Linked DNA regions of Homo sapiens: regions 1, 2 and 3 are each linked to region 4. Evidence: promoter capture Hi-C in 16 types of primary human blood cells and fetal thymus (Javierre and others, 2016). All regions are on one chromosome and are shown on one strand. Each heading gives the region's core, a stretch centred on a gene start or on the middle of the fragment in contact. The rest is flanking DNA. Distances are from core to core; before and after follow the strand shown.

The links. The method cuts DNA at HindIII sites, captures the fragments that hold promoters and counts their contacts. A CHiCAGO score of 5 or more calls a contact.
Region 1: the fragment with the promoter of BAG5 here is called in contact with the fragment with the promoter of RD3L in region 4 in 8 of 17 cell types (naive CD8 T cells, erythroblasts, non-activated CD4 T cells and 5 more); the score reaches 14.0 in naive CD8 T cells.
Region 2: a contact is called between a fragment that was not itself captured here and the fragment with the promoter of RD3L in region 4, in 1 of 17 cell types (M2 macrophages). The highest score is 5.1, in M2 macrophages.
Region 3: a contact is called between a fragment that was not itself captured here and the fragment with the promoter of RD3L in region 4, in 1 of 17 cell types (M2 macrophages). The highest score is 6.5, in M2 macrophages.

Annotation. Positions count from the first base shown.
Region 1 is chr14:103,561,327-103,564,026 of GRCh38, reverse strand. It overlaps BAG5 (BAG cochaperone 5), which reads left to right and starts at 1,370. Exons shown (of 2, transcript NM_001015048.3): 1 at 1,370-1,411. COA8 (cytochrome c oxidase assembly factor 8) reads right to left here and starts at 1,067. Exons shown (of 5, transcript NM_001370595.2): 1 at 903-1,067. The coding sequence starts at 1,025. RefSeq lists a silencer at 1,113-1,762 and enhancers at 2,103-2,152, 2,252-2,700. The HindIII fragment of the contact is 16,544 bases long and covers 1-2,700 here.
Region 2 is chr14:103,654,278-103,656,979 of GRCh38, reverse strand. KLC1 (kinesin light chain 1) reads right to left here. Exons shown (of 17, transcript NM_001394837.1): 2 at 2,155-2,416. The coding sequence starts at 2,415. Among named protein-coding and RNA genes, the nearest start is that of KLC1, 26 kb to the right of the region's middle. The HindIII fragment of the contact is 1,809 bases long and covers 500-2,308 here.
Region 3 is chr14:103,587,309-103,590,008 of GRCh38, reverse strand. It overlaps COA8 (cytochrome c oxidase assembly factor 8), which reads right to left. Exons shown (of 5, transcript NM_001370595.2): 4 at 2,645-2,700. Among named protein-coding and RNA genes, the nearest start is that of COA8, 26 kb to the right of the region's middle. RefSeq lists a silencer at 1,315-1,489. The HindIII fragment of the contact is 3,067 bases long and covers 1-2,700 here.
Region 4 is chr14:103,941,262-103,943,961 of GRCh38, reverse strand. It overlaps RD3L (RD3 like), which reads left to right and starts at 1,433. Exons shown (of 3, transcript NM_001257268.2): 1 at 1,433-1,870; 2 at 2,260-2,565. The coding sequence starts at 2,267. The region is part of intron 1 of TDRD9 (tudor domain containing 9); the gene reads right to left. The HindIII fragment of the contact is 3,550 bases long and covers 1-1,877 here.

The DNA of each region.
Region 1 (2,700 bases), core at 121-2,620, 380 kb after region 4:
CGCGCGCCACTATGCCCAGCTAATTTCTGTATTTTTAGCAGAGACGTTTCACCATGTTGGGCAGGATGGTCTCACCTCTTGATTTCGTGATCCGCTTGCCTCGGCCTCCCAAAGTGCTGGGATTACAAGCGTGAGCCACGGAGCCCGTCCAATTTTTAATTAACACTTTTTTAATACTTCTTTAATTATTGTTTAAACCAAGTTTTCCAGCCTCCTTCATTAGCCTGTTTGGTATTTGCATGCTTTGCTTGAATATTTTATCTCCAGCCCATTCCACACCGTTAGTCAACATTTTCATCTGACAGACGGAATCAAGGCCTAGGCCTCCCTTAAACAAAACATCCCTCCCAAAAGTACCACTTATAAAAATTGCTTGCCACAGACATTCTTGCTACAGACATTCTTTGCGGATCTTTGGCCAGTAACATGCATATACCCACACATAGTTTGCAAATAACAACTATTCAACGTGAAGTGCTACAAAAGTACGATGATAAAGTGCTCGCCGCTTGAAGAAAAGCACTAATAATTGTAACAAAGCCAAAACACACACACACACAACGAAAAAAAACGCACGGTAAGCCAAGAGCTCTTTAAAAATAAAAAATAATCATTCTCGGGAACAAATAAGGTAGGTACAAACTTGCCAGGTGACTCTGTTACGCTTAAAGGTTCTGGCTGTCAACAGTCCCCGGCGTGGTGGCGGCGGCACCCTCAGTCCCATCCGACTGAGGGCGTTGATGCGGGAGCCTCGGGGCTGCGGGACTGTTCGGGATAGGACGCGAGAGCACCTGGACAAAGGCCTGAGGCGGCTGTGCAGAACAGGGAGTGGCCCCGAGGCCCGGGTTTGTCTTCCCTTCCGGTCACCCCTCCCGGCCCAATGTCCCCAGGCCCCTGCTTACCCCGCTGGGCGCCGTATCCCTGCGCTCGGCGCCGCGCTCCGGAGCGAGTTGACAGCCGCGGCAGGCGAAGGCGCGGCAGAGAGGGGGGAGAAAGGTCTTCTTCCCCGCCCGCAAGACCACCATGGCCCCACGCCCCCTGGCTCCCGCGGCGCACGGCAGCATTGCGACGGCGCGAGGGGCCGCTTTACGGCAGGGTCGCGAAGCCCGAGGAAGCGCGGCGGCGCGGCCGACCGTGCGCTTTCCCAGCGGTGCGACGGGGTGAGGGGGCGGCGGGCGGCGCGGGCTGACCCGGGCGGCCGCTCCTTGGTCGCGGTCACTCCAGGCTGCCTCGCTGCGCCGCTGGCGGTGGGCGTGGCGCTGCCGGCGGCTAGGCGCGGACGCCGGAGGAGGTGTCCCCGGGTTTAGGGGTGTTCGGCCAGGGGCGGGGCTGCCGGGCCCGGGCGACTGCCGGAGCTGCGGAAGTCGTGGAAGCGTCGGCGACGCATCGCGCGATGGCGCGGGCGGGACAGGTGAGCGAAGCGCGGCTTGTAGCCTTTTCCCTCTCTCGGGGGGACGAGTGGGGCACCACCTCCGCGCGGGGCTCCCCGCTGGGCCACCCCTTCGCCAGCGCCCAGCCCCGTGCGGCCTGTCGGATCAGGCAGGGCAGAGTCGGTCTCGGCGCTGTCCCCGCCCCTGGGGTCGGAAGCGACCGGGGCTGGCCGGGCCTGGTCTCTGGTGTCTCCGGCCGGGCCTCGGTTCCCCTCCTCCCCCGGCTTCCCCCGGCCGGGCCGAGCTCCCCTCGCGCGCCCATTGTGAGGTCACGTCCTGCAGGCGCGCCCTGGCACCCGGGCCAAGACGCCCGGAGCGGCTGCTGCAGCCAGTAGCGGCCCCTTCACCGGCTGCCCCGCTCAGACCTAGTCGGGAGGGGTGCGAGGCATGCAGCTGGGGGCCCAGCTCCGGTGCCGCACCCCGTAAAGGGCTGATCTTCCACCTCGCCACCTCAGCCACGGGACGCCAAGACCGCATCCAATTCAGACTTCTTTTGGGTAAAGGGCCAAGAGGGAAGGGCGAGGCGGGGAGGAAGCAGCTCGGGCCGCCTTCCCTCCGTGGCCTCCAGGACATCCGCCGGGGATAGATTATGCGTTTCCATTGGTTACCCACCTTGAGCGAGCCGTTTGATAGAAACCAAGAGCTTGAAACGTGCATTAGGCCATTGTGGACTCCCAGTGGGAGGCGAGTGAATGAATTATTCATAGTTACCACGTTTTCGCGGGTTGTTTTTTTTTGAGAGAGTGGAGCATGTTGGGGGCTGAGGAGGTGTTGGGCCTCGAAAGCCCAAGGTGGTGCCCTTCAGCGCTGTCCCGGTCGCTCTTCTTTACCTGTGGGGTTTTAATCTCTTCAGGGAGACTTCTGTGAGGGAAGATGTGTGAGGAGCTAAAAGGGTGGGGAGGGGAAGTGCACAAAGGGATGGAGAGAAACGAAGAAGCGGGGACCTTGGGGATGTCTGAGAGCCACTGGTTTTTGTTCTGGTTCTTTCTTTTGCTTAGAGTTTCTGGAAACTAGGCATAGCTGTGTGGCGGGGCGGGGTACTGTTAGTGTTCGGAAGGTTACAAGAGCTACTGTTTCACCTTTCATAAAGGTGCCCTGCTGGTTCCAAATAGTTTGTGTCGCGTACGGTGACTCACACCTTAATCCCAGCACTTTGGGAGGCGGAGGCGGGCGGATCGTCTGAGACCAGCCTGGGCAATATAGTGAGACCTGTCTCTACTAAAAATAACATTAGCTGGGCGTAGTGGTGTACGACTGTAGACCCAGCTAC
Region 2 (2,702 bases), core at 155-2,654, 290 kb after region 4:
GGGCTCTGCCTACAGAGTGCTCACTGGTTTCTGGAACAGACCAGCGTGAGGCTGTGGCAAGTTCCTAGGAGCATAAGAGCACAAACAGCTAGGAGCTGGCTGGCAGCAATCTGTTCTCTCTTTAGAACATACATCTGCCCATCCCTCTCATAACATAATAACCAGGTTATTATCCTCCTAGGTTTAAAACCTGAAACTCCAGAAGGTGGGACCTTTTCTTCCTTCTTTTTTTAAAACTCTTATCTGCGACACCAAAAAAGCAAGTTTAAATTCATGTCACCTGTTCTCAAGGTAACAGAACTTGAGAAATAATACGTTCACAATATCCAAACAGAGCTACAGTTCTGCAACTCAAGGCTGTAACATGGTTAGGATGAAGACTCTAAAATCAGGGTGTGGGCAGTCACTTCCTCTATGAAAGCAGAAACCGCTGGCCAGCAGCCCCTCTTCTGCTCTATTCACTCACTAAACTAGAGAATGCTAAGAAAGAAGCAAAGCTTTGGTATATTTAATTTTACCTAAGATATGCTGACAGAGCCAGAAGTTATCAGGAGAGAGTATTTAAAAACCTAGATGTTTCCAGTGTTTTCATCTCTATGTCAAGCATGATATTATAGAAACAAAGGTTAGTCAAAGATATGAAGCAATCTGGCCCTGGGATTGCAGAGACCATCACCCACTGGCCAGTGTCCATTCTCCTTCCTTAGGCTTAAGGACCTGCCACTGTAAGTGGGAAGACAACATTCCCCAGTCTCCCACTCACCCAGGTACAGCCATAAGGTCTGGCCAATGCAATGTAAGCACTGCTGTACACATCATCAAAGCAGCAGCCTTCAAGGAAGGAGGCACGTCCTTCCTTTCCCTTCCCCTATGCTAGAACAGGGCCACATGGAGCTCACTCTCAGTCCCCAAGACAGGCTGCCAAGGTGCAGTGTGGCAGATGTTAGGAACCTGAGTATCCCCGATGACTGTGTAGCTACAGAACCCGTCCAGGAGAGTGTACCTCAGTACTTATTTGACAAACATCTTGTGGTTTAAGCCACTGTTTTTGTTTTTTTGATACTGGCAGCCAAATCAAATCCTAAATGATACACAGCAGTATCCACTATTTTGGATCCGCTTTTCAAAATTCAGAGAGGCCCTGAGGTCAGGAGTTCAAGACCAGCCTGGCCAACATTTTAGTTTCTACTAAAAATACAAAAAATTAGCCAGGAATGGTGGTATGTGCCTGTAATCCCAGCTACTTGGGAGGCTGAGGCAGGAGAATCACTTGAACCCGGGGGACAGAGGTTGCAGTGATCTGAGATTGAGCCATTGCACTCCAGCCTGGGCGGCGAGAGCAAACACTGTCTCAAAAAAATAAAAATAAAAATAAAATTCAGAGGCCGGGCATGGTGGCTCGCGCCTGTAATCCCAACACTTTGCTGAGGCAGGTGGATCACGTGAGGTTGGGAGTTCAAGACCAGCCTAACCAACATGGAGAAACCCTGTCTCTACTAAAAATACAAAATTAGCCAGGTGTGGTGGCCCATGCCTGTAATCCCAGCTACTTGGGAGGCTGAGGCAGGAGAATCATTTGAGCCCAGGAGGCAGAGGATGCAGTGAGCCGAGACTGCATCACTGCACTCCAGCCTGGGCAGCAAGAGCAAAACTCCATCTCAATCAATCAATCAATACAATTCTGATAGGCCCAAATCAATAGTAATTTATTAACATACAGAACACATGATCTGTTTTGTTTTGTTTTTTCTTTGAGAAAAAGTCTCGCTCTGTCACCCAGGCTGGAGTGCAGTGATGCAATTTTGGCTCCCTGCAACCTCTGCCTCCCAGGTTCAAGTGATTCTCCTGCCTCAAGCCTGCCTAGTAGCTGGATTACACACGCCAGCCACCAGGCCCGGCTAATTTTTGTATTTTTAGTAGAGTCAGGGTTTCGCTATGTTGGCCAGGCTGGTCTCAAACTCCTGACCTCAAGTGATCCACCTGCCTCAGCCTCCCAAAGTGCTTGGATTACAGGCCTGAGCCACACCGCACTCGGCCTGGATCTGTTATTCTATAATCATCTTTCCTCTTCTTTAGTGAAACTGCTTATTTCAAACAAGTCTCCATTTTACCATCAAAAGTTCCTGATAACGTCTGAGTCATTCTCACTCGTACCTGTGCCTCACTCAGGCCGAGCTCCAACATCTCCAGTGACTTCCGGATCATGTTTGATTTCTCCTCCACCAAATTACTTTCATCATCTTTCTTCAAACACTTCAGTGTCTCCAGCAAACTTTGTAAAATGGAATTGTGCTCATTCTTCAAAGCTTCCAGCCCCTGAATTACTTGCTTTGTCTTAGAAATAATTTCATCCTGTGTAAGCTTCTCCAACTTGTCTTCCTTTATGTACACCATTGTGGACATGTTGTCATACATTCTGGAATGAAAAAAGAAAAAGAAATTAGATCCCTCATTACAGGTTTCATTTCTGTTACATCAAGTAAATATGAAAATTTTTTAATTAACATTTTATAGGGGAATAATAAATATGCACATTTGTAATTTATGACCTTGAAATACCATATTCTGCAGTTTCTGTTTTTCCTTTGCAGACACATTTAATTACTTTTCTGGTTTATGTCTTAATTCTTTTTTATGACAGCAACTGAAATTAATGCCAAAGATTAAAAGCAGCAAAACATCTAAATGGCATTTCCAAAACA
Region 3 (2,700 bases), core at 42-2,541, 350 kb after region 4:
CAGGCTGAGAGTGAGGCCCACTGGCGACGCCTGGAGTCCTCTCCAGCCCTGTTTCTGGAGGCCGCCACCATCCTCCTTTGGTGTTTTTTTTTTTTGAGACGGAGTCTCGGTCTGTCGCCCAGGCTGGAGTGCAGTGGCGCGATCTCGGCTGACTGCAAGCTCCGCCTCCCGGGTTCGCGCCATTCTCCTGCCTCAGCCTCCCGAGTAGCTGGGACTACAGGCGCCCGCCACCACACCCGGCTAATTTTTTGTATTTTTTTTTTTTAGTAGAGACAGGGTTTCACCGTGTTAGCCAGGATGGTTTCGATCTCCTGACCCACCTGCCTCAACCTCCCAAAGTTCTGGGATTACAGGTGTGAGCCACCGCACCCGGCCCCTCCTTTGGAGTTTTTTTTGTTTTGTTTTTTCATCTTGCTTAGTTGTCCAGGCTGGAGTACAGTGGCACAATCTTGGCTCATTGCAACCTCTGCCTCCTGGGTTCAAGTAATTCTTCTGCCTCAGCCTCTTAAGTACTCCTTTGATTTTTGCTAAAAGATCCAAGAGAGCCCTTGGAAACCCCAGGCCTGCCGAGCTGGCAGCATTTTAGGGATGTGATGGGCCACGACCACTCTGGAGGCTCTGCATGGCAGGACAGAAAGTTCCTCTCCACCTGCAAACCACCTTTACACCTCCACCTACTTAAGCAATGCTGTCATGAGGAGCAGTGCCCAAAGTAAATAAGCGCTTCCAGGAGAAGAAAACCGGTAGCCCATGGGGATTACAGTTCTTCAAGGAAAAGCCATATTCCATTTCACTAATACAGACGACCTGATTCTATGACATGTAAAAGCAAGCTACACTTCTGCTGTTGCCACAGGGAAGGCAGGGGCAGGAGGTGGTGGTGGGGGCCAGGCTCCTCTAAGGCCTGATCTTGGGTAAGGCTGGTCCTCTTCACCCGAGTGCCACAGAGAAAACATGAAGCCCATCAGAGACTGTGCCCCGTGCAAACAAGCTACGTGTCCAAAGACCAGGGAAAGATTATACTCGCTTGTTTGAATGACTTAACTAATTCAGAGTAATACATGACAACCTTAGAAATGGAATCCAGATATTTCAGGACTAATCTTTAGGTCAGACTGTCCCTCACTGAGTCCATCCAGCCTTTGACTGTATCTATATTCTCTTTTTTTATTAGGGTCTCACTCTGTAGCCCAGGCTGGAGTGCAGTAGCGGGATCTCGGCTCACTGCAACCTCCACCTCCTGGGCTCAAGGGATCCTCCTGCCTCAGCCTCCTGTAGCTGGGATTACAGGTGCACACTACCACACCAAGCTAATTTTTGTATTTTTTGTAGAGACAGGGTTTTGTCATGTTGTCCAGGCTGGTCTCAAACTCCTGGGCTCAAGCAATCCATCTGCCTTGGCCTCCCAAAGTGCTGGGAGTACAGGTGTGAGCTACCGTGCCTGGCCCATGTCGACATTCTTGAAGTCTGGCTTCACCTGCCCATCAGGCTTTGTAACTCTGGAACTGTTTTATATATATATATATATTTTTTTAATTACTTACTTATTTATTTATTTATTGAGACAGGGTCTTACTCTGTCTGCCATCCAGGCTGGAATGCAGTGGCCGGATCTCGGCTCACTGTAGCCTTAACCTCCCAGGCTCAAGTGGTCCTCCTAGCTCAAGCCTTTCACTATGTTGCCCAGACTGGTCTTGAACTCCTGGACTCAAGTGATCTACCCACCTTGGCCTCCCAAAGTCATGGGATTCCAGGTGCGAGCCACCGTATCCAGCCTACAAATATTTTAAAGCAAATCTCAGATATCATGTCCTATTAATTTCACCTGTAAATACAGGTCATTATTATCTGTAACCAGCTAAAACCCGTTTTTTTTTTTTTTTTTTTTTTTTGAGATGGAGTTTTGTTCTCCTTGCCCAGACTGGAGTGCAATGGCACGATCTCAGCTCACCGCAACCTCCACCTTCCACGTTCAAGCGATTCTCCTGACTGAGCCTCCGGAGCAGCTGGCTAATTTTGTATTTTTAGTAGAGACAGGGTTTCTCCATGTTGGTCAGGCTGGTCTTGAACTCCTGACCTCAGGTGATCTGCCCACCTTGGCCTCCTAAAGTGCTGGGATTACAGGTGTGAACCACCACACCCGACCTAAAAAAATTGGTATCTTTTTAAGCCACTGCAGTCACTTAAAAAATAAAGTTGATAGACGAGGCGCAGTGGCTCATGCCTGTAATCCCAGCACTTTGGGAGGCCAAGGCAGGCGGATCACGAGGTCAGGAGATTGAGACCATCCTGCCTAACACGGTGAAACCCTGTCTCTACTAAAAATACAAAAAATTAGCCAGGCGTGCTGGCGGGTGCCTGTAGTCCCAGCTACTCGGGAGGCTGAGGCAGGAGAATGGCGTGAACCCAGGAGGCGGAGCTTGCAGTGAGCCAAGATGGCGCCACTGCACTCCAGCCTGGGCGAGAGAGCGAAACTCCGTCTCAAAAAAAAAAAAAAAAAGAAAAAAAGAAAAAAAAAAGTTGATAAAGTCTTGCAACTTCTACCTCTGATATAAACATGAATGTTGTTAAATTCAGGTAAGAAAACACTCCTACCTAATCTGGATGTGCTATTCAAATTTTCAGGAAAAGAGTAAACACCTACCTGTTATAATACATGTGCTTCTGAAAATTTTTACTTAAAAATTCCTTGTAGAAGTC
Region 4 (2,700 bases), core at 184-2,683:
AGTATATGCAATGTCATGTGAAAACCTTCCAGTTGACAATAATCAGTCCTGACATCTGGCTTTTTCTAACATCTAAGCAACAGGAGCTGTAGGGTGGCCACACACGTCACTCTGGGTCATGCATGACATGCAAGTCTGATGTAAACAACGTCTACTCTTCATGGCTCACTTGAAAGGAAAAGCAACAGAAGAAACAAATACTATAAAAGGGAAAACCACTATGCAGTCGTTTCACAGAGAACTGGGGAGTAAAAGACCTTTTATACTATCTACTCTTTAGCAAAAGACAAACACTTGCATAGGAAATTAGCACAGGCCAGCGCAGTGGCTCATGCCTGTAATCCCAGCACTTTGGGAGGCTGAGGCAGGTGGATTACTTGAGCCCAGTTTACGGACCAGCCTGGGCAACACAGGGAGACCTTATTTCTACAAAAAAAAAAAAAAAAGAAATGTATGTGTGTGTGTATATATGTGTGTATTATATATGTGTGTATATTTATATATACATATATAATACATATACATATGCGTATATATACTTATGTGTATATATACATATATGTACATATATAAAATACATACACATATGTACATATATAAAACATATATGTATGTACATATGTGCGTGTGTATATATTTTTTTAAACTAGCCAGGCATGCCGTAGCATGCACCTGTGGTGGCATGCACCTATGGTCCTGGCTATTCAGGGGGCTGAGGTGGGAGGATCACTTGAGCCCAGGAGGTCGAGGCTACAGTGAGCCGTGATCATGCCACTGCACTACAGCCTGGGTGACACAACGTGACTCTGTCTCAAAAAAAAGAAAGAAAGAAAAAAGAAATAGCACAATAATGACCATTACAAACCAATATGCACCTAAATAGTAAATATAAGTTTTTCATCCTCAGCTCCAAAAAAAAAACACGAAAATGATTTTTCTACGATGAATTATAAGATTTTGTTTAGAATTTTGTATGTTCTTATGCCTCTATTTTTCCCTGACAACCAATTACTGCCTTATTACCATATTTTCAGAGATTATAAAGTATATTTTAAAGTTATCTAGCTGTTTATTATGTCCCCTAGCATTTCAACTTGCTTAAATATACAAATTTAACTATTTTGAAAAAACCAAAATGAATACAAAATGTAACATTTGCTAAATATTTCACAATTATAATTCACATCAGCATTCTTTACCTATTTCACTCAATTACAATGAGTTTTCTCAGAATGTATGTTTTGCAAATAGTCAAGTCTAATCTATTTTTCCTGTTTTCACTAGAGGGGACAGTGACCCGGCTTCCAAATGGCCTGAAAGTTAAGCTGAAGAATAAAAGCAACGTGGCTATTTTTAGAGCTCTACAGGCATAAAAATACAGCACTAAACTGTGACCTACAGCTATGCACAGCAAAGCATCACATCACGCGACAGTCTTCACTCTAGCTCGGAGCGCATCTATGGTGCTTTAGACGACCATTCTTCGTTTCACTACCAAAGACATGTCGGAATGCATTTAGGACCAGCATCTATAGCTGCTGGCATTTTTTTCAAATAGACTGAGCTACATTGAAAAGGCAGACCATTATATAACTTGTGAAGATTAAATAGTCAGTTATTTTTGTCATTTCTTCTAGCTTACTTACAAGGTGAATTAATGAGCATTCTCTCCAAATGAAGACATCACAGCCTCATTCCTAACACAGAAAGTTATTTATTTCAAATACAGTTTCGGTGGGTAAATAAGGTGGCGCATTCCTTCTACAGAGGACACACCTAGGAGAGCAAGATACGTCCCAGTGAAACACAGCTTCGTCACCAACTTCAGTCAACTCTTTGGCAACATCACATCAGCCCATCAACTTAACAGGTAAGCTTTAAACCTTTTCTGTCCAAAACATAAATCAAAAGTATCTGTAGGCAGCACTTGCCCCGACATTAATATTTTAAGTCTCTTAAGAACTTTTCACAGCAAGTGTTAGTGTTATTTTCGGATATCATTCAGTCTATATGTTATCTCTGACTTTGTATATCTAATTTCTGCTAAGCTACATAAAAGCATTTTCAAAGCTTGGTTTCTGCCACTGACCTAGTTAAAAATTAAGACGTTAATCCATGTTCTAATCTTATTTTGACCTGCATAGCTAAATGTGAAAAAAAATCGTGCACTTTTCGGGCAAATTTATTGTAAAGAAACAAATATTTGCTCAGAAGAACATAACATTTTGAGCAAATAAACAAGTGAAAATATTTCCATAGGCTAAAAATGCCACTTTTTGGCTGGATGAAATGGCCCAAAAACGATTCCTACAAACCCACACACTATCCTGGCTCAGACATAGTGACAAAGACTCTGCTTCGGGAATTAAAATGGCACCTAAAGGAGCGAGAGAGATTAATACAAGAAATCGAAAATGAACAAAAAGTGAAAAAAACAGGTGTGGATTACAACTGGCTCAGAAACTACCAGAATCCCCACACAACTATCCCAGTGACTGAACAAAGACAACTTGAAGTTCTTTGCTCACAAGTTCAACCTTGCCAAACTGGAACTATTCTCAGCAGGTAAAAATACTATGTTCTCTTATGATTCCTGCTACTGCTAAGTCCAAGTTCCTCATATATTTTGACTAGAAACTGTATTCTATCATGTAAATTCTTTAACTGTGTAGATGTCTGGTGAGCAATTGTTTTAAATTA